Regions from separate parts of the Homo sapiens genome. Here region 1 is linked to region 2. Evidence: promoter capture Hi-C in 16 types of primary human blood cells and fetal thymus (Javierre and others, 2016). All regions are on one chromosome and are shown on one strand. Each heading gives the region's core, a stretch centred on a gene start or on the middle of the fragment in contact. The rest is flanking DNA. Distances are from core to core; before and after follow the strand shown.

Region 1 (7,230 bases), core at 4,058-6,557, 220 kb before region 2:
CATTATCCCAAGGGAACTAACACAGGAACAGAAAACCAAATAACACATGTTCTCACATAAGAGTGGGGGCCAAACATTGAATACATATGAACACAAAGAAGGGAACAACAGACACTGGAACTTACCTGTGGGTGGACTGTGGGAGGAGAATGAGAATCAAAAAACTGCCTATCAGGTATTATGCTTATTACCTGGGTGAAGAACTAATCTGTACACCAAACCCTGCAACACACAATTTAACTATAAAATAACCCGGCACACGTACCCCTGAACCTTAAAAAAAGGTTAAAAAATTTCTTTGATGCACGTGAATTGAATGATTGGCTGGTATAGGCCAATAGGATCCCTGCATTCATGACAGCTGCTAAATGCAGACCCTGCTGCTGTATCATGTAGCTGTTGCTCACTGACGGCTGGGCAATTAATTTGGGAAGACTTTTGTGAACTGAAATGTTATCTCTTGCCAAATACTAGAGATTATTATTTCCATTGTTAAATAAACTCAAGTGCATAACTTGCTAGTGCTGAATCCCAATGTCATTACTACTTTATTGAGAGTTAAATGTAAGTGTCTTTGGACAGAAAGAGAAGACGCAACCTTGCATCAGAGTCTGTCCACTATTAGCTACATAACATCACACATTAAAACTTTCCCAGTTGGAAAATGGAGGCAATAATACATGACTGTCTGTTTTGAGAATCAAATTGGGTAATACATATGGTATGTGATATATGTGTAAATCCCATATCAGGAATGTTTTCAAATAAAACAAATCACCATATGGTATGAATAATAGTTCCAAATTTATTTATTAAGAAATATATAGGTAAGATCCCTGGTTATAGGGAGATAACCCAAAGTGATCATTAAAAGAAGGAAGCAGGATACAAGAATCATGAGTATATTGAAAAGAAAACATAGTTGTGAAGATTCTTAATCATTTGCAGCAACTTAAGTTTCTTAAGTGAAGAGAATGAAGCTCTTGACTTTTGAGTCAAAGCTGAGACCATGACTCAAAATTGAGAACACATGAAGCTGGCACATGATTCACAAGGTATAAGAAAAAGAGAATCAGGATGAAGTATTCTGCCCTCCCTCAAGCTGATTCACAAGATTTTAAATATGCAGAGAATTCATAAAAATTTGGGTGAGAACATGGTTGCTGTCAGCAGTAAGGTAAATTAGTCCTCCAAAAGATAAGTCAGTTGAGCAGAAGGTTGTTGTGTGAAGATGGTTGTTCTCTTGGGACTTGATCAGCAGCAAGAAGGCTGGCAGCAGCTGGACACACAGGTGGGCTGGAAGCAAGTGGTCCTGCAGCAGGTGGTCTCACAGCAGGCGGGGCGGCAGCAGGGCTGGCAGCAGCTGGATCCACAGCTCTGGTTGAGGCAACCAGGCAGGCAGACAGTCGTCGGGTAGTAGCAGGTTCTTCTGCAGTACACAGGTGCACAGGAGCTGCTCTGGCCACAGCTGGACCCACAGCTGGTTTGGCCACAGCAGCTGGACCCACAGCAGATGGGCTGGCAGCAGGTTGTGCTGCAGCAGGAAGGCTGGCAGCAGCTGGTCAGACAGGTGGGCTGGCAGCAGGTGGTCCTGCAGCAGGTGTTTTGACAGCAAGCTGGGCGGCAGCAAGGCTGGCAGCAGCTAGACACACAGCAGGAGGGCTGGCAGCAGGGTGTGCTGCTGCAGGTGGTCACAGTGGTGGGCTTCCAGCAGGTGGTCCTGCAGCAGGTAGGCTGACAGCAAGGGGAGCAACAGTGGGTCATGGTGTCAGGGGTGGAGGGTGGGTTTCTGTTCAGAGGTGAGTTTCCCAGAATCTGATGACCCCTTGCAATCTGGACCTTTTATACACCTGGCTTCCAAAGTTTCCACCAATCAGCAGGACTTTTCCTTGTTTCTGTTTACACTGTTTTCCACAGTCCCTTTGGGATTGTCAAAGGGGAAATTGTTTCTGAAAACTTATGAATCTTTTGAAAGTAAGGGTTTAATCTGTTTCTTAATTGTGAATTACTCATAGAAACTTCCTTTCAGATAAAAGGAAGCCCATCTCATCATCAGCATCATTCCTGCTCTGACCATCATCTAGTCATGTGATAGTTCTTGGTGATCTGGGAAGCTCAGGAAATTCTCTCTGCCCAGCCTCACAGTTGGCTGTATGTAGACTGGGAAGTGTCTGTGGGGAGAAGCATGATGCTGATATATTTACGGTGACAAAATGAATCCATGCCTGGGCCCAAGACAATTCACCCACCAAATTCTGACTCAAGACTAACAGGCATCTCTGTGCAATCCTCACCACCTGTGTCTTTCAGTTATTTGAACGTCACTTGGGAAGAGGGTGTCTGTCACAGTGTGTTCCATGTGGCAGAGCCGATCGAGAGCAGGTGGATGCAGAGAAATCCACTGGGATTTAGACAGCATCAAGCAATCTACGCCCAGGGGTGAGCATTCATTCTCACTTGTCTGCGAGTGTGGGGATTACCGGGATGAGAATGTAGAACTTTCTATGACATAACTGCTTGAGATTCAGGCCAACGTGCATAAGCTGTGGCTCTAGCCATAACCCTGGTTACTAGCACAGTCAGTATCATTTCTTCTCTTTCTTTCTTAGACGGAGTCTTTCTCTGTCGCCTAGACTGGAGTGCAGTGGCGTGATCTCGGCTCACTGCAACGTCTGATTCCTCGATTCAGGGGATTCACCTGCCTCAGCCTCCCGAGTAGCTGCCACTACAGATGCCGGCCACCATGCCCGGCTAATTTTTGTATTTTTAGTAGAGAGAGGGTTTCACCATATTTGTCAGGCTGGTCTCGAACTCCTGACCTTGTGAGCTGCCTGCCTCGGCCTCCCAAAGTGCTGATATTACAGGCATGAGCCACCATCCACAGCCTCTCCTTCTATTTAATGAATTAATTAGATGAGTTGAGATGACACCTGATTCATCGTGGAGTTCTAACATGTTTAAAACATTTTCTAGGAATTACCATTCATTTCAGAGGAATGCAAATTATTAATTTCCAACTTGATACATTATTATATTGTAAATACATCTATGTCCCCATTACATCTATGTTAGAAAATAGAAATTAATCCCATTCTCTCCCAATTATATCCTCTTACTCATTCCCAAAGACAGCTAATCACTCTGTCAAGTTGTAATCCTATAGCTAACTTTTGGCTTTAAAAAATATTCATGTAAATAAAAATTACAGTATTTGCTTCTCTATTTCTTTAGCATAATCAAAAGTAATCGTTATTGCATAGTCACTTTGGACTCTTCATGTCAGGAGAGCAGCAGACAGAGAAAGGAGTTACTATTTGGTGAGGGGTAATTATCCTCAAGCCACATAGTGTAGGAGAATGTATCTATAGCTCAGGTGATTTACTGAGTATATTAACTTACTAGCAGTGCCATGGTAAATTACTGCAAACCAAGTGGCTTAAATTTATTTTTTCACAGTTCCAAAGGCCTCTAGTCTGGAATTAAGCTGTTGGCAATGTTGTTTTCATCTGAAGCCTGCGAGGGAAGTATCTGTTCCAGGTCTCTCTCCTTGACTTGTAGATGTCTATCATTTCCATGTGTGTTTGACATAAGTTTTCTACTATATGCATACTGTCTCTGAATTTCCCCCTTGTGTATAGATATCAGTCATATTTAATCAGAAGCCTAATTGTTTCCAATATGACCTTTTCTTATCACATAACATTTTAAATGATTCTATTTGAACATGAATTTTGGAGGACACAAATTAACCCATAACACTGCAGAATCTCATAGTGTGTCCATGCCCAGTGATAACCACAAAACAGTAAAAACAGTAATCACAGCGGACAGTGGTATAGTAACCAGGGGCTCAGACCCTTCAGGAAGGATGCTCTGAGCTACTCCCTCAGGCAGTTATCTAGACAAACAAGAGTGCTGGCCAGGGGTGAAGGGAGAATAGGACTGGTGGTAATTAATGGAGCTTATGAATCTCAGGTGCACTGTATTATAGCAGCAGTAAGTGTAGCTTATTTCATTGGCCTTCATTTTATATCTCACTTCCTCCCCCAGCTTTTCGTTTCCTTCTTCATTTTTCTTTCTTTCTTTTTCTTCAATCACCCCTTCTCCTTCCTTCCTTCATGTTTTTTTTTGGTTCCTTTATCCCTTCCCTTCCCTTTCCTTTTCCTTCCTTTCTTCCTCCCTTCTCTTTTTCTTTTTTGTTTCTTTTCTCTTTCCTCCTCTCATCTTCTGTTCCTTCTCTTCCTCTCCTCTGCTTCTTCCTTCTTTTAGAGCTTGTGGCTCTCCATCACATTTAAACAGCAAAGATTTGACTTGAGTGGAGCTAATTGTAGATCTCAGACAAGTTTTCGTAAGTGCGCCCATATATCTTGCATGTTAGTGTGCTTGGATTAATTTCCATCTGTCAGAGTCCGCATCTCTGTGGCCAAGGGCTCTTGTATTGCAGCTGTAGAAAGTCATGCCACCTGTGAATGCAACACAGAGAAAAACACTCAACCAATGATTCTGGAGAGCTGATTTATAAAGACTCTAGCTTCCTCATTCCTGAAGTAGGATAATTCTAGCTGTGTGTTTTTCATCATTTCTGATAGTTTTCCCTTTAGTTTAAGCTTTAGTTGGTGACTGTGATACTGACTTTATAGTGTACCCTTTTCTGTATCACTTCCCCAATTCCTACCGGTGTGATCTGCACTTCCCAGTAAACTAGTTTCACTGGAATCTTTTCTTCAAAGTCTTTTCGGGAGAAACTAATCTATGACATTATGTTAACTCCCTCAGCCTCAATTTTCTTATCTCTACGCTGGGAATATTAATACCTATTCTGAAAGTTTGTTAAAGAGTTAATAATAATGTACACAAAGTGTTTAGCAAATACCCATCCTATAGCAGGCAATCCAGAACATATTAGTGTTTCTTGTTCAGAAAATTACCAATTTTAATGTTGAAGATAGGAATATTTTTGTAATAATTAACTAGATCAACTAAATACTTTTTTTCCTAGCTGTATTGAGGTATAATTGACAAATAAAAGTTGTATCTATTTCAGGTATACAAGGTGATGTTCTGATATATATATTCCTTGTGAATAATATGTTTATTAGGTCACGAAGCTACCATTTCCTTTTAATTTTTGTGGTGTGAACATTTAAGATCTACCTTCTTGGTAAATTTCAGGTATATGATAAAGTGTTATTAACTATAGTCACATTACTGTACAGTAGACATGCTGAACTTATTCATCTTTCATAAATGATGCTAGTCAAAGAGAATGTCCTAGTTTTCATCTCCTTTACTTCAACCCTGAACGATGATCACAGTAAGTGGCCGTTGTCTCTTAGCCAAGTCTTCAGAGCATTCTAGATTCACAGTCTCAGAAGTTGGCATCTGTCATGGAAATCTACATTTTTAGCTGATCAGAGGTAATTCTAGCACTCCAGTGCTGGTAGGAGGTCCGAAGAAGGTGACCCAGGTCCCCAACTTTTATATTTCTCTCAGAGCCTGTATCAATCAATCTTTCCATGGGTGAATGCTTAGCTTACATCGGTTCAGGACCCAAAGCACTAACCTCTGTCTATTATGACTTCTATGAATGCACAAGTTCTACTTTGCTCCTTTCTTACATTCTTCTGATTTCCCTGGAAACACAAGTTTTTCATTTCTTTGAATGCTTCCTATTGGCCTCACAAAATGCAGAAGGCTGTTTCATTCCCTTACTTGGCTCAGAGATTATGGATTGTGCCAAGTCTTACATGCCCATTGTGTAGTTTCTCAATTCTCAGCTTTGTTCTTACATAATTTCCCTCATAACATTACAATTAGGGGACAAATTGTCTTAATGTGGCAAAATGTATGGTCTGCATTTTACAAGAAATAACTTAGTTTCATTTACTTCATCAATAGGTATTCAGGAGATGAAGGCTGTATAAGTATTTTATTTACATGATATTGACAACAAGTTTCTTCAGATGAGACTCTCTCTCATGAGTCCACAATAAATTCCCAAGCTTTTTTTGATGTAGATGAATTGAATGAGTGGCTGGTCAGAGGCTGAGACAAAAAGAGCTCCCTGCATTCAGGGCAGCCATTAAATGCAGTCCCTGCTGCCATATCACGCAGCTGTTTCTCACTGAGGTGTGGGAAATTGGGAATTTTTTGTAAACAAAAACGTTATCTGCAAATATAAGAGATTATTTGTCCTATTGTTAAAAAAACTCAAGTATATGACTTGCTAATACTTACTTCCAATGTCATTTCTACTATATTGAGAGTTAAATGTAAGTGTCCTTGGGCAGAAAGAGAGGACCTCAGCTTGGACAAGAGTCTGCCCTTTACTAGCTACATAACATCACACATTAAATTGTTCTCAGCTGAAAAAATGGAGGTAATAACACACGACCATCTGTTTTGAGAATCAAATTGGATAATACCTATGGTATGTGATATGTGTGTAAATCTCATATCAGGAATGCTTTCATATAAAACAAAACACCATATGAGATGAGGATGGTTCAGAGTTTATTCAGAAACATATAGCTAAGAATCTCTGCTGGTAGCAGAAACATAACCCAAAGTTATGAAAAGAAGAAAGAAGGATACAAGAACCATGAGGAGGATATTGAAAACAAAAATATGATTGCAAAGATTATTGATCAGTTGCAGAAACCTAAATTCCTTAGAAGCAGAGAATGAAGCTCTTGACTTTTGAGTCAAAGCTGAGACCATGACTCAAAATTGAGAACACACGAAGCTGGCACATGATCCACAAAGTGTAAGGAAAAAGAGAATCAGGATGAAGTATTCTGCCCTCCCTCAAGTAGATTCCCAAGATTTTAAACAGGTAGAGAATTCATAAAAATTTGGGTGAGAGCATGGTGGCTGTCAGCAGCAAATTAAATTAGTCCCCCAAAAGATAAGTCAGTTGAGCAGAAAGTTGTTGTGTGAGGATGGTGGTTCTCTTGGGACTTGATCAGCAGCAAAAAGGCTGACAGCAGCTGGACACACAGGTGGGCTGGAAGCAAGTGGTCTCACAGCAGGCTGGGCGGCAGCAGGGCTGGCAGCAGTTGGAGCCACAGCTCTGGTTTAGGCAACCAGGCAGGCAGACAGTTGTGGGGTAGTAGCAGGTTCTTCTGCAGTACACAGGTGCACAGGAGCTGCTCTGGTCACAGCTGGACCCACAGCAGGTGGGCTGGCAGCAGGGTGTGCTGCAGCAGGAAGGCTGGCAGCAGCTGGTCA
Region 2 (6,706 bases), core at 2,873-5,372:
AGCCAGTTTGCTGATTTTCAACTTGAAATTTCCACTTTCAGTTCCATTCATGAACGAATTATTTCTTCAAGCACTTATGGACAACGAACAAATTCTTCAACCTTTCTTTGTCTTTCTTATGGGGGTTACCAAATATTTTGGCCTCAGAATTATCTGATTCCTTTCAATTCCAGAAAGACCTTACTCTTCTCTCTGAGGACGCCAAAATACAAATTTGACCCAAGAAATGAAAAAGCCGATTTACCTTGAAACTGAGCCTTTGCAAGCATTGAAGCCCACGCTCTGAGTCTCAGCGCCGACGAGACCATGGAAGAGCCATCTGTCCTTCTCAGGACACTCACTTCCTGTATCCCACCGTCCTGCAAATTGCACCCCCTATGAAAGAGGAATAATATACCAAGGTCTAATAAATTTTAACTATTGGTGCAACAAACATATCTTTTTTTTTTCATTGAGTGTACTCAGGATGTATATTTCATAGAATGTCATATGAAAAACTTTAATCTGCTTTTGATATCCCTTCTCTTCTAATACCACATTAGGAAATTTGTTATCCAGAGGTCCAGTGGAGGTTAATGACCATAAAAACATAGAGTAAGTGTAGTTATTTAGGGCCTCAGAAATGGCAAAGGCTCTGTTACCATAACTTAACCTTACACAGTGCTTTCACAACCAGGAAGTTACAGAAATCAAAATCTCTGGCTGGGTACGGTGGCTCACACCTGTAATCCCAGCATTTTGGGAGGCCAAGGTAGACAGATCACGAGGTCGGGAGTTTGAGATCAGCTTGGCCAACATGGTGAAACCCCATCTCTACTAAAAAAAATAAATTGCATTTCTATATACTAACCATGAAAAATCTGTAAGGAAAATTTTAAAAACAATTCCATCAAAAGAATAAAATACTTATGGCCGGGCATGGTGGCTCATGCCTGTAATCCCAGCACTTTGGTAAGCTGAGGTGGGCAGATCACCTGAGGTTAGGAGCTCAAGTCCAGCCTGGCCAATATAGTGAAACCCTGTCTCTACTAAAAATACAAAAATTAGCCAGGCATGTTCGTGGATGCCTGTGGTCCCAGCTACTGGGGAGGCTGAGGCATGAGAATTGCTTGAACCCAGGAGGTGGAGGTTACAGTGAGCCAAGATTGTGCCACTTCACTCCAGCCTGGGTGACAGAGTGAGACTCCATTTCAAATAATAATAATAATAATAAAATAAAGAATAAAATACTTAGGAACAAACTTAGCCTTGGAGGGGAAAGACTCGTACACCAGAAACTACAAAATGTTACTGAAAGAAATTAAAGAAGACACAAATAAATGAAAAGACATCCTGAGATCATGGATTATAGGATTTAATATTGTTAAGATGTCAATACTACCCAGAGAATCTACAGATTTAACGCAATCCCTATAAAAATCCCAATGATGTTTTTGCAGAAATTTTAAAAAAATCCATCCTAAAATACATATGAAATTAGAAGGGGTCCTATATAGCCAAAACAATCTTAAAAAAGAACAAAGTTGGTCTCACATTTTCCTGTTTCAAAATTTACTGTAAAGCTACAGTAATCATAACAGTGTGATACTGATATAAAGACAGATATATAAAGCAATGGAAAAGAACAGAGAGCCTAGAAATAAACCCTCAAATACACATATGGTTAAATGAGTTCATTTATTTATTTATTTGAATTGACAAAAATTATATGTATTTATTGTGTACAACACATTTTTTTGGAATATGTATACTTCGTACAATGGCTAAATCAAACTAATTAACATATGCATTACCTCACATAAGTTTTTTTGTAGTGAAAACACAAAATCTACTCTCTTAGCAATTTTCAGGACTGTAACATATTGTTATGAACTATAGTCTCTATGTTGTACAATAGATCTCTTGAATTTATTCCTCTTATCTAACTGAAATTTTGTAATCCTTTGACCAACATCTTCCCAACACACTCCACCACCACCCTACCCCCGGTAACCACCATTCTACTTTCTACTTCCATGAATTCAACTTTTTCTTTTTTTTGAGGTTTTTTTGTTTTTATTATACTTTAAGTTCTAGGGTACATGTGCACAACTTGCAGGTTTGTTGCATATGTATACATGTGCCATGTTGGTGTGCTGCACCCAATAACTTGTCATTTACATTAAGTTCCACTTGTAAGTGAGAAAGTGCAATATTAGTCTTTTTCTTTGTCTGACTTATTTCACTTAGTATAATGTTCTCAAGTTTAATCTGTTGCCCCAAATAGCAGGATTTCCTTCTTTTATGACCAATAATATTCCAGTGTGTGAGTGTGTGTGTGTGTATGTGTGTGTGTATCACATTTTCTTTATCCACTCATTTAATGATGGACATGGACACTTAGGTTGCTTCCATATCTTGGCTATTGTGAGTAATGCTGCAATGAACATGGGAATGCAGATGTCTCTTCAAAATACTGATTTACTTTCCTTCGGGTATATACACAGAAGTGGGATTGCTTGATTATATGACAGTTCTATTTTTAATTTTCTGATGAACCTTCATATTGTTTTCCATAATGGCTGTACTAATTTACATTTCCACCAACAGTGTGCCAGAGTTCTCTTTTCTCCACTTCCTCTCCAACACTTGCTATCTTTTGTCTTTTTGATAATAACTATCTAATATGTGTGAGACGATATCTCATTGTGGTTTCAATTTGCATTATCCGATGATTGGTGATTTTGAAAATTTTTCATATACCTGTTGGCAATTTGTAGATTTTTTTTGAGAAATGTCTATTTAGATTTTTTGCCCATTTTTCAATTACGTTATTTGTTTTCTTACTACAGGTATTGAGTTGTTTGAGTTTCCTCTATACTTTGGATATTAACCCTTTATCAGATATGTGGTTTATAAATATTTTCTCCCATTCAGCGGTTTGCGTCTTCACTCAGTTTAGTGTTTTATTGGCTGTGCAGAAGCTTTTTAGTTTGATGTAATCCCACTTGTCTATTTTTGCTGATGCTTTTGGATTCATGTTCACAATATCACAATATTGGCCAGGCAAAAGTCATGGAGTTTCCTCTGTTTTCTTCTTATAGTTTTATCATTTTGAGTCTTTCTTACATTTCAGTCTTTTAATCCATTCTAAGTTGGTTTTTGTATATAATGTGAGACAATGGTCTAATTTCATTTCTTCTGAATGTGAATGTGGTCAAATGATTTTCAACAAGGGTGACAAGACTATTTACAAATGGTTAAGATGGTTAATGTAAATGGTTCATAAATTTTATGGTATGTATATTTTACCACAATTAAAAATTTGTAACTATAAACATGTGTAGGAGACCCAAACTTTTCTGAAATAGAAGATATATATGTATATATGCTGGTTTATATTTGCAGAAGCAAGGATAAAGGTGTCAAAGAATGTGCACCAAATTCTTAATATTGATTACCTCTAGAGCATTAGTTTTGGAAGAGATGTGTGCATCTTCCAGGAAGGGAAAAGACACTAATTTTTCTTTATATACCTCTGTACTCTTTGACTTGTTACAATGTGTACTCATTACTAGCACATATGTTTAATTTAATAGAGTCAGAAAACAATCTACAAGCAAAAGTCATTAAAGATTTTAGTTAGCAATTTGTACATTCACTATTACTGAAGGCAAGAATATTAGATAGAGCTCTGAGGATCCTATAACTTGCACAAATTGATCATAGAAAGGCATACTTGGTTTGAAAGTTGATACATCAGGTTGTAGTTCATGTTTTGATGACACTAATGTTAGTCTTTCCAAGTCTGGACAAATTGTTTATAAAATCATGATCATAGTTAAGTGACCATTTAAGGAAAAATGATCAGTTAAGATAAATTCTGCCTAAAGGTTATCAAAGGACAACTATGACAAAACGTGCCAGGGCGACACTTGGCTCAAGGCTAGTCTGTCATGTGACTTGCATAAAGAGGCACTTCGGTGCTTGGCTTCCATGATGAGCCTTCACTTCGCCCAGAGGGCAAAGAAGAAACATAATGAGACTTAATTGTACAATGGAAAAAGGCTATTGAAATGCTATTTATAACTTTATAAACACCTCAGGTATTAGCCAGAGACTCACACTGAAATTGACATCAAGAAAAGGTGTTGGGTAAATATGCAGCTCTAGGGAACATATCAAAGGACAGATATAGAAGGTACAGCCCAAACTCAGAAACCTCTCTTAACACAGCTCTCAACCCAACTCCTGACACCATGGCCAGCTGTTCCACCAGTGGGACCTGTGGCTCCAGCTGCTGCCAGCCAAGCTGCTGTGAAACTAGCTGCTGCCAGCCAAGCTGCTGCCAGACCAGCTCCTGCGGAACCGGCTGTGGCATTGGTGGTGGCATTGGCTATGGCCAGGAGGGCAGCGGTGGATCTGTGAGCACCCGTATCAGGTGGTGCCACCCAGATTGCCACGTGGAGGGCACCTGCCTGCCCCCCTGCTACCTGGTAAGCTGCACACCCCCATCCTGCTGCCAGCTGCACCACGCCGAGGCCTCCTGCTGCCGCCCGTCCTACTGTGGACAGTCCTGCTGCCGCCCAGCCTGCTGCTGCCACTGCTGTGAGCCCACCTGCTAAAAGCCAGGTTGCTGATCGCTTAAGAATGAAAGGGGAAGCACAGCAAAATTGTGCTGATTTCTGAAGAACTGTTCGATTTTACTTGGATGCTAAGTACCATGATGTTGTTAAGCTGCTCAGAGATAATGAAACTCCTAGTTAGGACACTGTGGATGTGCCGAATTCACTTACTGAAAGATGTATCAATCAGTGTTCTGGATAGCTTGCGTTGCTTGAGCAGAGGACCAGGATGGAATAGTTCATCATTTCAGTGACATCTCTGCTCCCCCAACTCTCTCTTGATGCTCATGCATCTTCAGACCTGGTTTTTCCTTGAATATCTCTGATTAATCCAAATAAAATGTTTTAATGTGCAAAGCAAACTGAGTTATGTCCTCCTTCTACCTTTAAACATGTCTTCTTGTAGCTGGTATTCAAGAGTGGATTTGCAATTTGATAATAATACCAAGGCATAACCATAAAGTCTAAACCAGAAAGATTAAATACAAAGTAAATTATGCTTGAATCCATCAGCTTAAAAATGCTCCATGAATTAAAGAATTTTTATAGTTCAAATATTTACATGCTCTAATCTATTATGATTAGGTCTAGACCAATAAAGGTTGACCTTTAGCTAAAATGTTAAGGTTGATCAAAGCTATTGATTTCTATCTAAATGTAATTCTACCATCTTTTGTCTCCTTCCATTTAATATACTAAATGTTCTCCTTCATTTATGCCCCAAAATCTAAAGAAATTGCATTACCTTCTAAATAGATTTAAAAATAGCTACTAGATACTACCTATTTTCCAAGAGAATTTAGGTTTAATTTCTACACCTTAGCCTTTCACATTCTTCCCACTGATCCTTGAATTGCTCTCTAAGCTTCAACTCCCACTATTCACCTTCATTTGATGTACGTATGCATAAGGTGTATCTTTGGTCTAAATGATAGTAGAAGAAACAGCTATAGAGAGCACCCGCTGAGTTCTACCATTGCCATTTGTCAGACAGAAGTGTTAGAAATCTGAAACAGCTCGATTATATTTTGCACTTTGCAACCCAACTTAAAAGATATTCTCTTAAGAAGTTAACACGCTGGACACGGTGGCTTACGCCTGTAATCCCAGCACTTTGGGAGGCTGAGATGGGTGGATCACGAGGTCAGGAGATTGAGACCATCCTGACTAATATGGTGAAACCCAGTCTTTACTAAAAATACAAAAAAAAAATTAGTCAGGTGTGGTCGTGGGTGCCTGCAGTCCCAGCTACTTGGGAGGCTGAGGCAGGAGTATGGCGTGAACCTGGGAGGCAGAGCTTGCAGTGAGCCAAGATCACGCCACTGCACTCCAGCCTGGGCAACAAGCAAGACTCTGTCTCAAAAAAAAAAATTAACACAACCTAGAACAAAACAAAACATATTTTACCATTTAATTTTTAAATTCTTCATTAGGCATTAGAGTGTAATACACAAAATACAATAGGATGCAAATATAGAAAGAAACACGTTTTCCACATTATTTACAAGCTCCCAGAACTTACCTCTATATTTAATTGGTAGCAATGATGGATTACACACAAAATTATGCAATTTCCAAGAGGAATAAAGTAGATGGCAGTACATTTTTCAAAGTGTCATAACTCCTAGATATTTTTTCCCGAGCCCGGTTCCACTACTAAATCCAAAAAATAAAATAAAATAAACCAAAAAACACATTTCCTAGTCTCTTTACAGCAAATAACAAGACTCTTTCATGAGAAGTACTACAGCTTGAAAGTTCTCTTTAATCATGTTTGAGTGGTATTGATATCCATGAATCAAGCCTTTTACTCCACCTATTCAATAAACATTTATTGAATCAGATTCAGTAAACATTTATTAAGGTTCTACCACAAACTAAGGACTCTGCTGGATACCTTCCTAAATACTATGTCAGTTTGGTTCCCAAGAACAGATTTCTGGTCTGGAACAGGAATAATAGTCACACATTCCAAATTGGTTGAAATCAAAGGAACTATAATCGGTAATTCAATAAGACATTGGAACAAAAAAAGGTGAAATCTGCGAATTATGTATGACCAAAGGTATTCCTTCAGTTCAGTAGATATCCAGATATCCAAA

What was found. The method cuts DNA at HindIII sites, captures the fragments that hold promoters and counts their contacts. A CHiCAGO score of 5 or more calls a contact.
Region 1: a fragment that was not itself captured here is called in contact with the fragment with the promoter of KRTAP1-4 in region 2 in 2 of 17 cell types (M2 macrophages and endothelial precursors); the score reaches 6.4 in M2 macrophages.

What each region holds. Positions count from the first base shown.
Region 1 is chr17:41,249,920-41,257,149 of GRCh38, reverse strand. KRTAP9-4 (keratin associated protein 9-4) reads right to left here. Exons shown (of 1, transcript NM_033191.3): 1 at 6,497-7,230. The coding sequence ends at 6,965. KRTAP9-9 (keratin associated protein 9-9) reads right to left here and starts at 1,766. Exons shown (of 1, transcript NM_030975.2): 1 at 786-1,766. The coding sequence starts at 1,764. The coding sequence ends at 1,255. RefSeq lists an enhancer at 7,182-7,230. The HindIII fragment of the contact is 1,395 bases long and covers 4,610-6,004 here.
Region 2 is chr17:41,027,611-41,034,316 of GRCh38, reverse strand. It overlaps KRTAP1-4 (keratin associated protein 1-4), which reads left to right and starts at 4,122. Exons shown (of 1, transcript NM_001257305.2): 1 at 4,122-4,966. The coding sequence starts at 4,239. The coding sequence ends at 4,604. KRTAP1-3 (keratin associated protein 1-3) reads left to right here. Exons shown (of 1, transcript NM_030966.2): 1 at 1-433. RefSeq lists an enhancer at 4,483-5,032. The HindIII fragment of the contact is 2,506 bases long and covers 2,966-5,471 here.